Linked DNA regions of Homo sapiens: region 1 is linked to region 2. The links are contacts of gene promoters, found by promoter capture Hi-C in blood cells and fetal thymus (Javierre and others, 2016). All regions are on one chromosome and are shown on one strand. The core of a region is centred on a gene start or on the middle of the fragment in contact, and the rest is flanking DNA. Distances in the headings are between cores, read along the strand shown. Region 1 holds the start of SLC25A32 (solute carrier family 25 member 32). Region 2 holds the start of TRAM1 (translocation associated membrane protein 1).

What was found. Contacts are between HindIII fragments. The CHiCAGO score rates a contact against its expected background, and 5 or more counts as called.
Region 1: the fragment with the promoter of SLC25A32 here is called in contact with the fragment with the promoter of TRAM1 in region 2 in 1 of 17 cell types (activated CD4 T cells); the score reaches 6.3 in activated CD4 T cells.

Annotation. Positions count from the first base shown.
Region 1 is chr8:103,412,877-103,416,458 of GRCh38, forward strand. SLC25A32 (solute carrier family 25 member 32) reads right to left here and starts at 2,231. Exons shown (of 7, transcript NM_030780.5): 1 at 1,908-2,231. The coding sequence starts at 2,061. It overlaps DCAF13 (DDB1 and CUL4 associated factor 13), which reads left to right and starts at 2,510. Exons shown (of 11, transcript NM_015420.7): 1 at 2,510-2,640. The coding sequence starts at 2,571. RefSeq lists enhancers at 1,897-2,518, 2,252-2,591. The HindIII fragment of the contact is 9,226 bases long and covers 1-3,582 here.
Region 2 is chr8:70,607,004-70,610,528 of GRCh38, forward strand. It overlaps TRAM1 (translocation associated membrane protein 1), which reads right to left and starts at 1,413. Exons shown (of 11, transcript NM_014294.6): 1 at 1,074-1,413. The coding sequence starts at 1,196. It overlaps LACTB2-AS1 (LACTB2 antisense RNA 1), which reads left to right and starts at 1,574. Exons shown (of 4, transcript NR_038881.1): 1 at 1,574-1,830. RefSeq lists silencers at 460-909, 930-1,109, 1,160-1,219, 1,280-1,329, 1,410-1,579. The HindIII fragment of the contact is 3,860 bases long and covers 1-3,511 here.

The DNA of each region.
Region 1 (3,582 bases), core at 981-3,480, about 33 Mb after region 2:
TGAGTTTAATTACATGGAAGCATAAAAATTATAGTATGTTACTCAGCACTGATGTTGATAATCAATAAATTTTTATTTCGTTATTCATCTTCTTAAGTTTTCCTCCTATCACCATTTCACAGCTACACTGTGAGCTTTATTATTACAAAGTCCTGCTTCCACTCCTGGATCTTTAATTTAGGCCTCCAATCCAAACTCAATCCTTTTATCTGTCACCTCAGCCCCACTAGTCTCCTAATACTCTTCCCAATTCATCAAGACTATTAATCTTCTCAGGTACCAAGAATTCCCTTTCCTCAGGAATGATATGCTTCAAAGCACTGTCTAAACTCATCAGGCCAACCACACTATTCTTCAATGATCACCTCGACTATCACCTCTTCTGCTCCTAGATAAAATGCTACTGAAGACAGACAGCAAGTCATACAGGCCTGCACCTGCAGGCAAGTCTAAAATTCTTCCAATGTTCAAACCATTGTATAACAGGTACTTATAGAGGTAATACGGTGAGGGGTTAAGTGCCAGAGGGTTCCAGAGTTAGATTACCTGGGTTTAAATCCCAGATCCATCTTTACAAACTTGTGACTTGGGCAAGTTAGTCAACTTCTGTTATCCTCATCTGTATAGCAGATATCATAAACTCACAGGATTGTTCCTGTGAATAGATTTACAGGATAATAAATGAGATAATGCATCTAAAGCATAGTTCACTGCCTTGCTCCTAGTAAATACTCGATAAAGATTACTTGTCAATAACATAATTATTTGTGCATGCATCATAAAACTTCATGACATTATATGTCTTTGTGGTGTTTTTTCTAGAGATAATACTCCATAATTTTCGATGATTTTCCTTCATAGAACGGGTTCTTGCTTCCTCTCCAGCTGTCAAAATATTAGCCCTTCTATGGGAAACCCCAAGCCCCAATCTTCCACTGAACCTTAAAGATACACATGGCCATCAGTAATGTAGAATTTTCTTAACGGTTTACCTGTATTTATATTTTGTTTTTGTATTTCTTGATTTTATGTTGTCTAGAATTACCTTTTATATGACTAAGTCTAACGCCTACAATTAAATTCTAAGTTCCCTGAAGGCAAGAACTTTATTAGATACTTCTGTAGCCCATACAGCAGTCTACAAATATTAAGAGAATATAAATCAAGTGAACTGAATTGCCTAATGCTAAAATAAACAACTTCTGTAGATTTAATTCTCAAGGCTGAACTTAACTTGTAATAACTTTATTTGGAAACTATTTTCTGCAATTTCAGTTATCAAAGATCATCTTTGAAACTCTTTCCAGACTTTAGTGTTGAGTTTAACTTCTAAAATGCTTTGTTAATTTCAACATACTCAATTCATCTAATACACTTAAAATAGTATTTCGATTCTAGCTATTTTTTCACAGAAACTTGTACCATTCTACAAATGCCAAAAAACAAACATTCAAGAGAATTCTATTCTAAATCTACTCCCAACCATTCGCTGAAGATTACGCCCTATCCCAATACTAGTCGAGCTGCCAAACCACGTGGGTATGCTAAGATTTCAAAGTTCCTCCAAGAGTGAATGATTTGCACGTGTGAGGACTAAACCTTAAAATGTGACAATCCCTTCTTTATTTTACAAATCAGGCTTTGAATCCCATCTTCTCTGCCAATGAGGATGTTTTTTCTCAGACTTCTCTACATACATGCCCCCTCTCTTAGTCTTGAGGAGCGGGGAAGATCGCAGGCCGACCCCTCCACCAAGCACCATTTCCTCAAATCTAGTTCAGGTTAGCCAACGCGGACAGCAACGCTCCCTTCAACGCTCCTCCTCCCCCTAGAACGGAAAAGACGGAGGAGATCCAGTTCGGGCTGACAGTGAGAGGATGCAGCCCGGTGTCTGGGCGGGCTCTTACCGGCGAAGCGGATCTTCACGAGGTCGAGCGGATGCAGCGCAAGGTTGGATAAGACGCCGCCGCTCACGCCCGCTATCAGGTTCTCATACCGGACGTGGCGGAATACCGTGCTCCACGCCGACGACCCGGACGCCGACTGGCCCTGGCCCGTCATAGGCTCGGGGCCCGTCGACACCACGGCGCCCAGGGCCGCGGAGGTGGGACGCGATGCAGTGGCCGCCACCGTGGCGACGGTCGCCCCTTGTGAGCGCAACCCCACCTCCGGGACCAACGAGAGGACTCTTATGCCCAAGGCGCGTGAGCGAAGCCGGAGACTCTAGTACTGAGGGGGCAAGAACGGGGCACAGACACTACGTCACGCCGGCGGAAAGCGCGATGGAGGGGAGGTCCCAGCCTCTCCCGAGTCTCCGCCCTGCCTCGCCCACAAATGCTCCAGCCCACGGACGCGGAAGCGACTGCACAGCTAAAGAACCGCCCCTTGCTAACGTTTGCCGGCAAAACTACGGAGCGGCGCAGGATCCAGTTGAGCCAGCAGGCCGCCGCTCCGCGAGTCACGTGACTGGAAGTAGTCTGGGAAAAGCGGAAGTCGCCTGTGGGAGGAGGTGGCGGTGGGCGGAACTCCTAGCGGACACCTCGTGGAGTCCGGCCGGAAGAGCAACCGAGATGAAGGTGAAGATGCTGAGCCGGAATCCGGACAATTATGTCCGCGAAACCAAGTTGGACTTACAGAGAGGTAAGATAAGTTGGTAGGGAGAAAGGGACGGTTTCCGCAAGTCGTTGGGTCTAGCCTCGGCTTTCGCGGAGTAAAGCCGGGGGAGGCTGGCACTCTGGTCTGGTTCTTTCTCAGTTACCTTTCGCTAAGGCAAACTTTGTGCTTACGGAGTCGCTGCGGAACTGGATGGATAGCAAGTAAAGTCTGTTCAAGTCCTTTTTCTAAGAATTTCCTCTAGTGGTGAGTGGGAAACAGTTGTCTATAGTGGAGAAAAATTCCAGCTGCTGCTCTGGGATTGTCTTCAGGTTCCTATTACTGAAAAGTGGACTTGAATGAGCCAAACTCGTGGGTTGAAGGGCTGAGAGTTAAACAGGCTTTTAAAACCTTCCTACTGCTCTTCTTGCCGCTTTACTACTTCACATTAGTTGTGGATGTTGGAAGAGACAAAGATGAATTTAAAAGCATCAGTTTTCTCTTACCATCCCTTAAGAAGTTTGATGAAAGAATGGTTAAATGAAATTAATTTATCCTTCCTGGTCTGTTCCCCCGTTAACATGCTAACCACTTATAAATTGTACTTTGTGATACCTAAATGACAAGGGACCAACCATGCGTAAGCAGATTGTTCTAAATAAAGAGAATAACAGGAGCAAAGGTCTTCAGGCAGGAATGAACCTAAGGCATAGAAAGAAGGGCTGTGTCATTAGTTTGAATGAGGAGTAAGCGAGATGAGATGAGGCGAAAACAGTATTTCACTATTTTGGTTGAGTAGGAGATATTATCAACATGTGTGTGAGCATTGCTAATAAGTCTCTGCTCAAAAGATGTTTACAGTTTGTCACAAGGCAGTAATGTTTCTAAAATATAAATTAGATTTGTCACTTGGATTTGGCATCGTTCCCAGTCCTTGAATCTCTGGTCCCACCTTCCTTGCCACTTTAGTCAGTCACTACGTTTCCCACA
Region 2 (3,525 bases), core at 163-2,662:
ACTCCAAAATCTCTACTCTCACTTGTTACATGCAGGAGAGAGGAGACAAAACAAGGCAGGAGCAAAATAATTTGTATATTTACTGAGACATAAAGGCTCCAGAGAAAAATTAAAAAGGGAAAAAAGCAAAGGAATGAGCGTGTGTATTGGGGAGCGAGGGGAAAAACGTAGGATGTTACTCGTTCACCTTGCAAAGTTTATCATCCACATTCAACAGCTGTTAAATAAGTCATCAAAATACTAGATACGTGGGAAGAGAATTTACACACTCCTGACATTCCCATCCTCTCCTACTTCAAGAAACAAAATTACTCGATTCCTTGGCACCGCTGTTCAGAACCTCGATTTATCCATCAGACCTTGTTTCTTTAAAGCGTCAGGGCAAAAAGTTCGTTAACTGGTAATAATATCAGTTTAAAAGACAAAAATGAAAACAATCTGGCGCGCCTCCACTGCGCCGGTGCCCGGCGGCCACCGCCCTTCAAGTCGAAAGCAGATGCCTGACTCCGGTTTCTCGCTCACCCCAATCTCGGAGCTACCGGGGGCTCCCCTGTCACTCGGGGCCTGTGGTCTCCAGGCCGGCACTCCTCAGACCCGGGGGCCGGGCCTCGGCCTTCCCCGGCCCTCGCGGGGCTGACGCTCACCGCGGCCGAGGCTGGCAGTCCCCCCAAGTCCGCCCACCCGCCCCGAGCCAGCTCGGCAGCGCAGGGGCCGCCCCCGCCCGCAGGCCCCTCGCCGGCTGCCACGTAACCCTTCGCGGGAACCAGGAACTGCGCCGCGCAGCCTGCGGGAGGGGGCGGCGGCGGGTCAGGAAGGGGGCGACGCGGCGGTCCCCACCCCCTGCGGGCCGCGATGAGGCCCACCGGGACTTTGCATCTCCGGGCCGGCCGCCGGGGAGCTGCCGCCGACGTGGGGCAGGGCAGGGAAGGCCTGCACCTCAGGGACTGGGGGTCTGCACCCACCCCGGGCCCGAGCCCCCCGCGTCCTGGGCGGAGAAGCCGGGGCTGGCATCTGGAGCCCGGGCCCGGGCTGGAGGTGGCGGGGCAGGCGGTTGGGACTCGGGGCGGGCTCACCTCAAACATGAGCCCCAGCAGGAAGACCATCGCCACACAGGAGACGATGTCCGCGTGATTCTGCAGGACGAATTCGTGGCTCAGCACTGGGGGGCTCTTGGTGCTTTTCTTGCGAATCGCCATGGTGGGGCCGCCGCCCGCGCCTGCAGGTGCTCCGCCCCGGTTCTGCTCTTCCCAGCTGCTCACCGACTCGCCGCCGCCTCCCGCTGGCTGCTCCTCACGGCCCCGCTGCAGCCGCTCGCTGGGGCTTCACTTCCCATCCCACAGCCAGTACGCAGCCGCCGGGCCGCCCGGGGGAAAAAAAAAAACACAACAGCTAGCCCGCAGCGGGGGCGAGCATGCGCACCAGGGAGACGACGCTCCCTGGTGCCGCGGCCGCCTCCGCGAGCCCACAGCGCCACCTGGGGACCGGAGGCCGCTGGCCCGCGGCCGGGCGAGCGTGCAGGAATGTGAGCGGCGCTTCCCTGCTTCGCGCCGGGCCCGGGTTTGGGAGTCGTTTGAGGCGCGAGCTTCCTGCGCCTGCTCAGCAGCCTGAGGCCGCGGCCGGGTGCCCTCCTGCCCTCCTGGCCATCCAGGGATTGGGTGTCAGTGGCCTGTTGCACATTGTCACTTCTACAAGTGACTAACACCGTCAGGATAATCTAAAACTACGAATACTACCTGACTCCACAAGGGTACGGTGTATTCTCCAGTTTTAGCATCTGCCTTAAAAATTACCTCAGAGTTAAGCACTGCTGGGGACTTATTTCTACTCTTGGTAAGTTTGGACTAACTTAAAAAAAAAAAAAGAGCTGACCCTATTCTGGTCTGCCTCTCCGTCCCCACCCCCATCCCCGTCCCCATCCCCACCCCTATCCCCCACTGGCCTCAGACTGAAGACGAAGGGATCAGTTTGGGTTTACTGGCTTCACATATATTCAAATTAACAACATGTTTTAGTAATCTAAGGGAAATAGTAAAAGAGTTAAAAAGGATCGTGGATTAAGACACGTCCTCCTCTTATCGTTTTGCCCAAACCTGGAGTCCTTTGTATTCTTTTTCCTGAAGAATTGCTCTCCTGTTTACCCATAAGCCAAATGTAGAAACCAAAGTCATGCTAGATTGAGCCCTTTCAGCGCCCTTCCACATCCAGTCATCACCAATTCGAGGCAGACCTATCACCCCGCTTCCCCACTACCGCAGTCCGAGGGTACTTGCCTCTTGCCTACAATATTACAACTCTGGTGTAACCACTTAGTGGTTTAAGAATGTGGGTTGTTAAATCAGAATTCTGCCACTTATTACTTGTACGATCAAGGACAAGTTACTTAATCTCTATGGGACCCGATTTCCTCATTTTTAAAAATGTATTCATTTATGTACTTACTGAGGGTTGACTGTGTCCTGGGCACTGGGGATACAGAACTGAAATACAAATTAAATTATTCCTAGGGACTTATCATTCTAGTGTGGGAGAGAATCTTTAAACAAGATTTCAAAAGCGAAACAGATGTTAAATTGAGTTGAGCAACCAGGAGAAAAATAAAGCAAGGGGAATAGGAAAGTGCGAGGCACTTATACTTGCCTGAAGACCTGCAGGAGGTGAGGGAGCAAGCCCTGTGGATATCATCTATAAAGTGGGGATAACTATTGCTCATTTTAGTGATTAAATGAGATGATTGAAGGAAACTGCTTAGCGGGGAGTAAGGGCTTTATAAATTTAGTCAGGGATTATTCTTTTCCTCCTTCTGGGCAATCACTAGTTTCATTTCCCTTCAGATCACCTTTCAACGTTTATACTAGAATGATGCTTCTACTGGCAGAAAGTTTTTCAGCGGGTTCCCTTTCCCTTCATGGAAAGCTAGCATGATGAAATAGCCCTTTCTGATTTGGTCCTTGCCTACCCCAACAGACTGGAGCCCTGCATCTACAGGCCATAATCTCTGTACCAGCATTATTGACTACACACACTATACAGTTGCCTCTCCATATCTGTGGGTGCCGCATACACTGTGGATTCAACCAACCTGGAGTAAAAGATATTCAAGAAAAAAACTGCATTTGTACTGAACATCTACAGACTACCCCCCCATGATTATTCCCTAAATAATATAGTACAGCCAACTATTTATTTAGCAGTTATGTTGTGTTATTATAAGTAATCTAGAAATGATTGGAGGTCTGTGGGAGGATTTAGGATATTCTTTACCAGAATATTGCATCATCTTATATAAGGCACCTGAGCATGGGTGGATTTCGGTATCCGCGGGGGCCCTGGAACCAGTCCCCTGTGAAGACTGAGGGACGACTGTACATGCCATGACATGCTCTCTTCCCATGCTCTCCCCTGCCTTTGCGTGTACTGCTGTCTCTGTCTGGAATGTTTTCTCCTGTCCTTTCATAGACACAGCAGGCTCCTGCTGTTCCTTCATGTCTCATTTACACATGACCTCTTCGAAAGCTTCACTGAATT